Regions from separate parts of the Homo sapiens genome. Here region 1 is linked to region 2. The links are contacts of gene promoters, found by promoter capture Hi-C in human tissues and cell types (Jung and others, 2019). All regions are on one chromosome and are shown on one strand. Each heading gives the region's core, a stretch centred on a gene start or on the middle of the fragment in contact. The rest is flanking DNA. Distances are from core to core; before and after follow the strand shown.

Region 1 (6,655 bases), core at 489-2,988, 410 kb after region 2:
GACATAGCTACGAAGCGGCAGAGCTGGAGTTCATACCTACCTAGTGTATTTCAAGTCCATGCTCTTCACTGCCATCAGTTCTGCTTCTATTTTTGAACTATTACATGAGCTATTTCTTAAAAGTCTACCCTTTTAGATTTTATCAAGTCCATGCTGTGTGTAAGATAACACTGGGAAGTATATAAAGATTAGTAAGGGCTTGGCCAGGTGTGGTTGCTCACACCTGTAATCCCAGCACTTTGGGAGGCCGAGATGGATGGATCACTTGAGGTCAGGAGTTCGAGACCAGCTTGGCCAAAATGGTGAAACCCCATCTACACTAAAAAGACAAAAATTAGCCAGGCATGGTGGCAGGCACCTGTAATCCCAGCTACTCAGGAGGCTGAGGCAGGAGAATCCTTTGAACCCAGGAAGCAGAGGTTGCAGCTGCGATCACACCACTGCACTCCAGCACGGGCGACAGAGCAAAACTCCGTCTCAAAAAAAAAAAAAAAAAAAAAAAAAAAAAGATTAGGCACAGTGGCTCACACCTGTAATCCCAGCACTTTGGGAGGCCAAGGCAGGAAGATCACTTGAGCCCAGGAGTTCAAGACCAGCCTTGGCAACACAGTGAGAGCCAGTCTCTACAAAATAATTTAAAAATTAACTGGATATGGTGGCACACGCCTGTACTCCAAGGATGAGGTGGGAGGACTGCATGAGCCGGGGAGACCAAGGTTGCAGTGACCCATGATCACGCCACCACACTCCAGCCTGGGAAACAGAGCGAGAGCCTGTCTAAAAAAAAAAAAAAAAAGAATATGATATCGTTCCCAGCTCTCAAGAAGCTTATATTCTAACCAAAGAAAAGTCTTCAAGGAAGAGGTAGTATTTAAGATAGGCCTTGAATGATGAGTAAGATTTATTTTATTTATTTATTTATTTAGAGATGGAGTCTCGCTCTGTTGCCCAGGCTGGAGTGCAGTGGTCCAATCTCGGCTCACGCAGCCTCTGCCTCCCGGATTCAAGCAATTCGAAGAATACGATTTAAAACCAAGAAAGAAATATTTACGAAAACATTCTACACACCTTTCATATTAAACACAATGTGACCCCAATGAGCACAATCCCCACTATGAGTTTTTACTTACAATTTCCTCATTTAAGAAAGAAAAAGGCAGCTTCTGACTGCATTACCTGCATGGAGAGTTGGGCATTCTGCATGAGAGTCAAACAGTATTTGATCCAGCACCTTGCTATTTCCCCCTTTCTTTGATGATAAAGCTCTGGCACTTCTCCTTCAGCTTCAGGAGCTAAAATATACATGTGATTTGTTTAAGTTAATGGTCACAACTGTAATTTTCATTGGGTACTGTAATTTTTTTAATATCACTTTTTCCTGACTATAAAAGTAACAGATCTTTACTGAAGCAGGGGGCTTGGGGAAAAGGGAAGAAAGATCCCCCCCCAAATCCTACTACCCAGAAGCACTCACTATTATTTTTGCATATTTCTTTCTCGCACCACAAACACTTTACTCATATCATTATCAACTCTTAGCTTCATTTTTAAGTACACCATTATATACAATTAAATAGATATTCTATTATTTAACCATTCTTCTAATTCTAACCTGGAATTTGTTGTTTCCAATTCTTTACTATCACAAAAACGTCTATGTCACACAACAGATGGTTGTGGAGAACCTGGTGCTAAACTATTCAGATGACCTGCTTCTGGGTCAGAGTGTCATACATAGCAGAGCAGCTTTCTTGCTGTAATCTACAAAGTCAGCTGTCAACACAAAGCTTTGTAAAGTTTATACACATACACACATTTTTTTTAAACTTGAAACATGAGTATAATTGTGCAAAAATCTGTCTGGATTTTGGATTTCTTCCTTAGGGCAGATTCCTAGAAGTGGAATTTACTGAGTAAAAGAGTTTACACAATTTTAAATAATTCACAACATACAGCCAAATTATTTTCAACAAATATGCCAACCAACAATATATGAGAATGCTCAATAAGAACATTTTGAAAACACTGGTCACTGTCATTTTTTCAGCTATTATGAAGAGTAAAAACAAAATAATATCTCACGATATTACTTTAAATAAAGTGAATTATTAAATAATATCTCAGCAATTTAGTTTTTATTCATTTTTTGAGACAAGTGCCTCTTAGACTTCAACTAATCTATAATTAATGTAGTTAATATATTAGGGGAGAAAGCAACTATTTACTTTGATAATGTACATTCCTTTAGCTCTTAAGAGTCTCTGCATTTTTCAGATCCACAATTAGAATGTCCATTTGTAAGGAAGACATGATGTTTCAAAATCTAAAACATCGTAAGAAGGTTGGAAACTGTTCAACAGTGAGCAATAGAATCAAACTATTTTTAAAAATAAACTATTTTTAAAGAAAATGATGAACTTATTAAAAAACCTGTTAAATGACTCAAAGACACATGTTAACTGTGATTTTCTAAGACTAAAGGAAACACTATACTTAAAAAGATGGGTATTTGGCAACATCGCTTATGCATGTAGTATTCCAACCAAAAATATATCATCTGAATCATGGCATAAGGAAACATCACACAAACCCCAGCTGGCAGTAATTCTATGAAATAACTGGCCTATATTCTTAATATTAAGTGATGAAAGGGAAAGAAAGGCTGAGGAACAATTCCAGACGAAAAATGCCTGAAGAGATGTGACAACTGAATGCATTATGCAATCTTGAACTGTATAATCCAGTACTGGCAAACAAATGCTAGAAGGAATATTATGGCAACAACTGATGAAATAGAAATATGCAGTGTAGATAAAAGAATTGTATCAATGTTACTTTTTTTTTTTTAATTTCTTTAAAAACATAGAGATGGGGTCTCACTATGTTGATCAGGCTTGTCTTGAACTCCTGGCCCCTCCCATCTTGGCCTCCCAAAATCTAGCATTACAGGCGTGGGCCACCATGCCTGGCCAATGTTACATTTCTTGAATTTGATAAATGATCTATGATTATGTAAGAAAATATTCTTCTTAGGAAATATATACTAAAGTATGAAAGGGTAAAAGAGCCTAATGTATGTAACCTTCTCTCCAATGGTTCAGAGAGAAAAATAAAATTTGATTCCAAGCGAGGAAAATACTAAAAATTGGTGCATTTAGAAGGGCATATGATAGCTCTTCTGTTCTTGCAACTTTTCAAAAGTTTAAAATAATTTCAAAATAAAACTTTTTTTAAAAGCTATGTAAAACATGCAAAGGTAAACTTACTGTCTTCTGTGGCTGAGATCTTTCCAGTTTGACCAAAAATGACATTAGCAGCTGATAAACAGTGCCTGGCCTCCATAAAGCATAGCTATTGGGGAAATAAACAACAGTGAATGCAACTATCACACAGCTTTATTTGCAACTGATACTTGCATAATTTCTTTTAATATGGGAAAAGGTATAAAATCAGATAAAAATACTACAAAGGAGGCCCTGTAGAGTTGCAGATCATTCAGAAGGTACAAAAGATATATTATCATATTATCTGGTTAAAATGTAACCTCAAAGGTTAAAATATTAATGCCCCCAAACTCTTAATAATAATCCACTCGGATTGAAAGACAACTGCCAACTGAAAGTTAGCTCTCCTTATACAATCAATAGATATACAGGAATGGCTGTCATCCTAGACTTAAACTGTCTCAAAAACTCCTTTAGGTTCAGTCTAAGTAGCCAAAATCCCATGCACAATAAATTCTTAGACTATTTACATTGTGTCAGAAGACTGAATATATATATATATATATATATATATATTTTTTTTTTTTTTTACGAGACAGGGGTCTCACTCTGGCCCAAGGCTGGAGTGCAGTGGCACAATCATAGTTCACTGCAGCCTCAACCTCCTGGTCTTAAGGGATCCTCCCACCTTTAGCCTCCAAGCCTGACTAATTCTGGGGTTTCTCTATGTTGCCTAAACAGGTCTCCAACTCCTGGCCTGAAGCAATGCTCCCACCTTGGCCTCCCAGGGTGCTGGGGTTATAGATGTAAGCCACCTTGCCCAGCCTGAGGATTTAATTTTTATTAGGTTTAGAGAGCCCCTTTACATCCTACTATACAAAGGCAAATAGGATAAACTCAGGTAAGAAGATATTCCTGTGTTCTAAAATCTTTAAACTTTACATACAATAAGGCTTCCCACCAAGTTTTAAAGTCAACAGACTTCTACAGATGAACCTTATGGAACTGCTTTACCAACACTCTTGAAGACTTCATAATTCAATTCCGGGCATGGCAAACTTCTCAAACAATTAGAGAAGATCTCCTTGTTAATAGAAACATTTTGTATTTGTCATGTAAGTCAAAGGACCACCCAGCAGAAGTTCAAAGTTAAAGTCCAACTTTTAGTTGGAAGCCACCCTCATTAAATAGAATGTCTACTTAATATTAGTAATACCTGAAAGGCTTTAAATGGTTGGCTATAACTTTAAAATTGCAGCATTAAATGTATCTTTCCATTATGGCAAATTCAGAAGCCATCTTGAGAATAGCTGGACACGTGTAGTATTAGCCCAGCAACATCTATAGATAAAAATGTGTTAAATCTTAAAAGCCAAAAGAAAGTTAGAGTTTATATAATGAAACTTTAATTATCTCTCTATAATCCAATCCCTTAACATTTATCGTCATTTCAGCTTTGTCCAGATTGGCTCCCTGTGAGCAACCACTGCTAGAACAGTGAGTGTCTTATGCCCTCTAGGTGGCTGGTAAATGTGGGACTTTAGCAGCTGCCAGGTAGGGATTCACCAAGTAGCAAAACCTCATCACTGGAATCAGATGAAGATGACAATGATATAAATGACAATTGCATTTTTAAAAACATGGTTCAAATCCCTCTTTTTGCAATACGACTTAGTTGGTTTTAACAAAAACTTAAAAAAGATTTTGGTAAAAAAATAAAAGTGCAGGGTGTGGGAGGTCTCATGAAAATTACTGCATGCTCCACATAAGTAATGCTTAACAACTTTAAATTTTAATCACACTTTAATATCTAGATATCTTAGTACTGCCAATTTCCATGGAGTTTTAAGTATAAATTAAAGTCACAGTGAATATGTAATTTTAAAGTTGCTAAACAGAATGAATAAGGGGCCTCCAACAGCTGTAAAAAAGATGTCACAAGCGGAGGCACTGGATAACACTTTGGATGAGGACAATGAAATGGATTCATGAGAATTAGTTAACTGAATGCTCTGATATATGCAGTAGCGTTACTTACACACTTGATCTTAGACCAAAGTCCTAGAAGCGATGCTGCAGTCACCACAGCCCTTTCTCTCCTGCTAATAGCTTTTCTGAATGAAATTCTGTGGGACAATACTTTAATCATCGGGCGCATTTACAGAACCAACGCTAACGAAATGCTCAAAAAGGATAAAGGCCCAAGGATAAGGCAGCGGGTTACCAGAGAGATGAAAGAAGGAACTCTGATAAGCAGAGAACTACCAAAATTTCAGAGAGGCTTGCGAATTCGAAATATAAATAAAAGTAATTTATATTGCTGAGATGTCTTATTAAGGATTAATAGGAAAATCTGGTTAGAAAAGGTGGTGTAAAATTATTTTAGCATTAAAAACTCTCAAGGATTAAAGGAATAAATGGGTCAATTAAGAGTACACCAACATGATGTGAGCAATGCTTTTTTAAATTTTTATGAGAAATTCTGATAAACAACTAAGAAGCTCAAAAACATTGTCCCTGTGTAACAATCCAAAAGAAGTATGGTATAAAGACCTAGAACTTTGGAACTCAGCAGACATATTTCCAACATTAAAAAATTATTACAGAGTTAATTCTGAAAAATAACTGAAATGCATCACATGCTTTTATCAAAGCCCACATTTAACAGTCAACTTCCTCAGTCAAATTCTCAGAGTTATGAGATTACCATTACGTAAAGATAAAGCTATATCTACAAGGTAAAATCTGCAATTTAAGGTAATATCTCACTAAAATGAGTTGAGATAGCGTGCCTATGTTAAAAAAAGAATTGGTCTTAGGTAACATGTAAAACAATGATAAAACTCGGTATTTTAAAACTCAAAATAATTCATACAACAAAAAGCTACAAAATTTTAGTACACGGGCAAACTGGGCTGCATTTTCGGCTTCAGTTGTACATCATAAAATACAAGCTACCTGTTTTTAAAAGATAGTATTTTCAAGGTACTACTGGTTCTATTTTTATACTCACTATTGGTACTCTGTTAGATAACTACTTCAAGAAGCTTACCTTATTGATGTAAAACTGTGACAAGGTAGCAGCATTGATAGCCCACTCTATAGGATGGTAGGCATTGTGCTCAAGCTGGCGTTTTAGTGTACTATGGCAATAGTGAGCAGCCTTCTCAAACATTTCCAGATGCTGGTAGACTTGAGCTAGGTAATATAGGTTATGAGTATAAACCTTTTCAAATCTGTAAAGAAAAAATAAACCAATATTTGTGTAATGGTTTACTTGTTTTTTTTTTTTCCTGAGACAGAGTCTCGCTCTGTTGCCCAGGCTGGAGTACAGTGGCACGATCTTGGCTCACTGCCTCCGCCTCCTGGGTTCAAGCAATTCTCCTGCCTCAGCCTCCCGAGTAGCTGGGATTACAGGCGCCTGCCACCAT
Region 2 (5,899 bases), core at 1,136-3,635:
CACTTGCTTCCTGCCTTGTCTGCTGCCCCAAGTGTTGACCCCAGTGGTAGCTCCCTGAGAAACAGCTGGTGTGTTTCTTACACAGCAGGGTCTGCTTCCTGGATGCACGCAACTGGCACCATCAGCTCAGGTGTGCGATTACAGGTGTGAGCCACCGTGCCCGGCATTTTTTTTTCTCCTTTAAAAGGACTGGCCTTCCAGGCGCAGTGGCTCATGCCTGTAATCCCAGCACTTTGGGAGGCTGAGGCAGGTGGATCACCTGAGGTCAGGAGTTCAAGACCACCCTGACCAACATGGTGAAACCCTGTCTACTAAAAAAATACAAAAATTAGCCAGGTGTGGTGGCATACACCTGTAATCCCAGCTACTTAGGAGGCTGAGGCAGGAGAATCGCTTGAACCCAGGAGGCGGAGGTTGCAGTGAGCCAAGATCGTGCCATTGCACTCCAGCCTGGGCGACACTGTGAGACTCCATCTAAAATAATAAAATAAAATAAGGACTGGCCTTCGGGATCGCTGTCTAGCTATGGACTCAGAAGGCCAGTGCCAAGCAGCAAAGCTGATCAGGAACCCCTTCATCCTGGGTGGCCCGCATCTTCCCCTTTCACGAGGCTTCAAACCATAGCACATAGTTGGAAGGCTGCAAGAGCAGATAATTTAAGGGGAAAATAAAAACTCAGATGTACAAGCTCCAAAACATAATCCCCTTTACATAAACAGTGGAGGTGGCGGGATGTTGTGGGGAGGAAGGAACTTGAACTCTGCTGGGCTTCTGTGACTGGTGACAGGCGCTCAGGCATCCCAGCCCTGCACTGGGTTTGCACCTGAAGCTCAACAAATTCCCACTGCCTGGGAGCAGGAGGACAGCAAAAAGAGCAGGCTGTCTTGGGCTTCCATTCTTATTTCTACACATTCTGCTCTTTAGGACCCTGGCCAGATGGGCATGAGACAGAAGCAAACCCTAAAGTACTGCTACTGTTGCCGCCACCAACAGAGATCAAAGGCAGAGACCCTTCTGCTAGGGTCCAAAGTCCAAACAGGCCACTCCAGAGAGGAAACAGGCACACAGGCACACACCCACGGGAGGAGTAGGGGCCCAGGAAGCACTCCCTCCCCAAGGGCAAGGATGGGGTTCCCATTCGACCCAGCACATGCTCCTCACATCTGCACAGCAGGGAGACCAAACAATAGATACAATTTCAGTGTTGATTGTCGATGAACTTACCCAGAAGTTCATAATCAGAAAAATCCATAAAGAAGCTCTTTCAATTTCAGCATGTTTAAGTTTCATGACTTATGGTTTAGTGTTGTTTTTATATTGGATTCCATGGGTGGCATAATCTTTTCAGCACTAGAGACCTTTAAAGGTCTTTCTCAGCTCACCCCGGGAGACAAGGGCTGGGTGTCAGGAAAGTGACACACAGGGAGAAGCAGAAAATGGACTGGGAGTGTGGGGGCCGAGGCCCAGCCACGAGAAACCCAGGCGGTGCAAGGCAGAGCCCTGGGAGCACAGAGGCTGCTGTGCCGTGGGTTGCTGGTGAATGAGAAGCCTCCTCTGCTTTAATGAAGAACATGCCCCCCCGACTCCCGCTAATCCTGCCCTGCCTTCATGGTCCACACACCACAGGTGTGCACAGGTTCATGCGTGTGTGTGAGCTTAACACGTCAGCCGCACATACAGTTGCTCAGAAACATCTTCACTGCTTCACACACGTGCACACAGTCAATGACCAGGAGCAGGGATCTTGGGGCAAACCTAGAGCAGCTTCTCAGGAGTTAAAACTCCAGCTTTGCTGTGGTTCCCGGAAGAGCCCTGACTTTGTCCTAAGACAGTGGTTCTCAAAGTGAAGTGCTGGCTCCAGCAGCATCAGTATCACCTGGGAACTCGCTGGAAACGCTCCGGGTTCTGGCTTCTCCTCCTAGAGCGCCCAGAGCTGTGGGGTCCTCCCTTCGGGCCAGAAACTCCAATCATAGTTTTTATGTACCAACCCCTGTGCTAAGTAGACTTTGTGCACATTATCTCCATTTAAAATTCACAAATGTACTGTAAGATGCACACCATTTTTCTATATTTTTCAGATGGGGTAGACAGAGCTCAGAAAGGTTAAGAGACTTGCCTGGAGTCACCAAACCAGGCTCGAACTCCTTCTGTATTCAGAATCACTCTTCAGACGTAGCTCCTGTCCTGGGCTGAAAGTCAACATCCGCCGAGAGCTGGGCCCTCTGTACCAGCCCCATCTCCCCCAAGTCTCTCCCTGCCTCTGCAGCCAGTCCTAAATCTTTCAAGAGACAAGGCCAAGCAGGGGGTGGGACCAGGGGCGGGAGCCAAAGCCCCCCCTCGTGAGCAGGCAGCACCTCTGCCAAGGCCCCCACTGGCCCTGCCCCAGAGAACGGCAGGGAAGCTGCAGCGAGGGCTGGCAGCTGGCAGAGCCCTGAGCACCCAGCACCCAGCCCGGCTTGCAGCCCAAAGCCTGGAGAGAGGCTGCTGCGCCATTGACCTGTGGACTCCAGAGACTCCCGCTGTGCATTCCTCTGATCTGGAAGGTTTCCTGAATTACGTGACGAGAAACCTGGGTTCGAGTCCTAACTTGTCACCAACTTCCTGAGTGACCTGGGCTGGTCCCGTCCCCTCTTGGAATCTCTGTCTTCCATCTCTTCAGCGAAGGGGTTGATTTATAAGGGTGTTTTCTGCTCTGACACTGTGATTTGAATTCTGTGTTTCCACATGATATTCGAGAAGTCTGGCCGGAAGGATGGAATCTGAAATGACAATGGTTCTGGACTGGGCTTTGTGCTCAGCCCAGCTCATCTTTGCCTGAGACCTAGGAGTGGCCCCAGGCTCTCCTGATGTGCCACCACGCTTGGCATCTGCTCCTCTCCCTGCCCCCATATTCCCATGCTCTGAAGGGGAGTTCTCTTTCATAGCAAATCCGAGAGGAGCCGAGGAGCCAGGTCCTTTGTTCCAGACCCAGAAGCAGCCATGGGGACCTGTGACATTGTGACTGAAGCCAATATCTCATCTGGCCCTGAGAGCAACACCACGGGCATCACAGCCTTCTCCATGCCCAGCTGGCAACTGGCACTGTGGGCCACAGCCTACCTGGCCCTGGTGCTGGTGGCCGTGACGGGTAATGCCATCGTCATCTGGATCATCCTGGCCCATCGGAGGATGCGCACAGTCACCAACTACTTCATCGTCAATCTGGCGCTGGCTGACCTCTGCATGGCTGCCTTCAATGCCGCCTTCAACTTTGTCTATGCCAGCCACAACATCTGGTACTTTGGCCGTGCCTTCTGCTACTTCCAGAACCTCTTCCCCATCACAGCCATGTTTGTCAGCATCTACTCCATGACCGCCATTGCTGCCGACAGGCAAGAGGGTCCTTGGGGAAGCTGGGGGGAGCCTCCCCACTGAGCCGGGGCTCAGATAAGGGTGGTGACATGCCTGTGATTACACAGCAAGTTTGGGTAGAACCATGGGAATGGCTTCCCAAATCTGGTCATGGTCCAAAACTATGAATCTGGAAGGCAGGGGGACTGTGGAGCTGAAGAAGGTAGACTGAGGGTTAGACACAGAGAAGGACTTTGCACTAGATGCACTAGACAGGTTGTTCAAGTCTGTAGGGGAAGTGGGCAATGTTTTAGCGACCTTCTGAAGTGTTCTTTCCTGGAGTTGATCTTTGTTTTGTTGTCTTTATTTCACTCCAAAGATATGTCTTATACAGTTTTTTTTTTATTATTCCGGATAGATTACACGAGGGGAAAATGTTAAGTTTGCTTGCAGTTACAATCTAATAGGGCCAATTATTTTCCCAACGCTGCTCAGGGCTGAGCTTCAGGCTAATGTTGGATGCTTGATCTTGCCCTGAGATGGGCTTCCAGTGTGGCTTTCTTGTGGCCGTCCACGGGCATGTCCATGCCCAGAGGGAAATGGTGGGCCGAGGTGCCTGGGCCGGGGTTCCAAGGCATCAGTGTGCTGTGTGGCTGTGGGAGAGTCACCCAGCGGGCTCTCTGCAGGTCGGCTGATACTATGATATCAGCAGATGGCAGCAGTGCGGGGAATGGCTAGAAGGCGTGGGCCTGGGTTGGGAGAGAGGGAGACAGGGGAAAGGGAGCTGGGCTAACAGGAGGGCCCCTGCCGCTCAAGCTGCCCTCTGCTCACAGGTACATGGCCATCGTCCACCCCTTCCAGCCTCGGCTTTCAGCTCCCAGCACCAAGGCGGTTATTGCTGGCATCTGGCTGGTGGCTCTCGCCCTGGCCTCCCCTCAGTGCTTCTACTCCACCGTCACCATGGACCAGGGTGCCACCAAGTGCGTGGTGGCCTGGCCCGAAGACAGCGGGGGCAAGACGCTCCTCCTGTAAGGCCTCTGGGGGATTGTGGAGGGCAACAGTGTGTGTGTGTGAGTCTGTGTGTGTGTGTGTACACACGCGTGCATGCATCCATGTCCATGCATGTGTGGTGTGCATGCATGGGTGTACACATGAGTGAGTGTACACGGGATTGTGTGAATATACCTATATGCTTAGTAAGCAACACACACGATGTAGCCGATCTGTTTTTCACACTTTACATATATTGACCCATTTAATTCTCCTAACTATGTGGGATATATATTATATTATTATTCTTACCATTTTTTAGATGAAGAAACTGAGGCACTGAAAAACTAAGTAACATGCCCAAAACCACACAGCTAGTAATTCAAATCCAGCTAGTCATTTGAATCCAGCTATGGATTCAAATCTAAGCAATCCTGCCCAGGGCCCAATCTCCTCACCACTCTGCTACTCAAATATGCACCCTTGCATCCTTAGATAAGGATATGCATGCATGCACACGTGTATGTGACTGTACATGTCACGTGAACATGCGGCACCCATTTCTGCCTGTGTGTACACGTGCAAGTGTGTGGGCATATTTGTAGATGTGTTTGCACACAGGCACGTGTTAGGGACATGTGTAGGCGTGTGTCTGGGGGAGACTCTCTATATGCTCAGGCCACAAAGCGGCAGGAGACTGAGGCAGAACGAGTCCATGATGGAGCCTGGGACATTTTCAGGCTGCTGAGGTGGGCATCACAGGCTGGAGGCAGGGAGGGCAGGGTTAGAGGAATTCAGGCATGGCCCAGCTGCTGTGTGACCCTGGGTGAGTCCTTTCTCCATTCCGGCCTCAGTTTCTGAGGATCTCACGATGTGTCTTTGTGGTCCCCAGGCACTGAGCCATTGCTTGGTAGAGGCTAAAGAACCGACTGGGGTTCTGGGCTCAGTCAGGCCCAAGTCGTGGCCTGGTCCCACGTGGCCGGAGGATGCCTCACACTCACGTAACCTCTGAACCTCTGGCTTTCTCTCTCTAAAATGAGGATTCATAATAGTACCTCGCTCTGTGAGCATAAATGAGATAGTGTACCTGAAGCCCTTAGCACCATGCCTGGCACAGAACTGGTACCCAGTATGTGGCAGCTTAAATAGGGGACACATGAAAACACACCTGGGGGTGGCAGATCCTTCCCACAAAGTCCCAGCTGCCCCAAGCATGAGGGTGTGCATGGTCTGAGGTGAGGGCTGCCAGGTAGCCATGGCAACACACCTCTCCTCCAACATCCTCCCTGCCTGGTCTCCATCTGTCCTGAGCACCTGCCAGGAGAAGGCTGCTCTTGTGGGCTTCAGGGATAGGGAAGGTGCCATTCTTCTGAGAAGCCGTTCCTGGGGACTGGCGAGTCTCGAGGGCAGGCCCTGCCCAGGGTCTCTGCCCCCTCCCTGCACCCCACCCTCTCACGGAGGGCGATATCCATATATGGGGAATGCCCGGCTTTCTGGCTCAGCAAAGGGTGGAGAGCAGAACATATTGAGACCGGCCACTTGGGGTCGGTATTTCTCCATCTTCATACAGGACCACTGT

Evidence for each region. Contacts are between HindIII fragments. The study calls those that stand out against the background at their distance.
Region 1: a contact is called between a fragment that was not itself captured here and the fragment with the promoter of TACR2 in region 2, in 1 of the 25 tissues and cell types used here (dorsolateral prefrontal cortex).

Annotation. Positions count from the first base shown.
Region 1 is chr10:69,005,537-69,012,191 of GRCh38, reverse strand. It overlaps KIFBP (kinesin family binding protein), which reads right to left. Exons shown (of 7, transcript NM_015634.4): 4 at 6,277-6,460; 5 at 3,267-3,351; 6 at 1,177-1,292. Among named protein-coding and RNA genes, the nearest start is that of KIFBP, 20 kb to the right of the region's middle. The HindIII fragment of the contact is 4,582 bases long and covers 1-4,029 here.
Region 2 is chr10:69,413,404-69,419,302 of GRCh38, reverse strand. It overlaps TACR2 (tachykinin receptor 2), which reads left to right and starts at 2,385. Exons shown (of 5, transcript NM_001057.3): 1 at 2,385-3,371; 2 at 4,164-4,358. The coding sequence starts at 2,980. RefSeq lists enhancers at 836-1,130, 1,881-2,615. The HindIII fragment of the contact is 13,628 bases long and covers 1-5,899 here.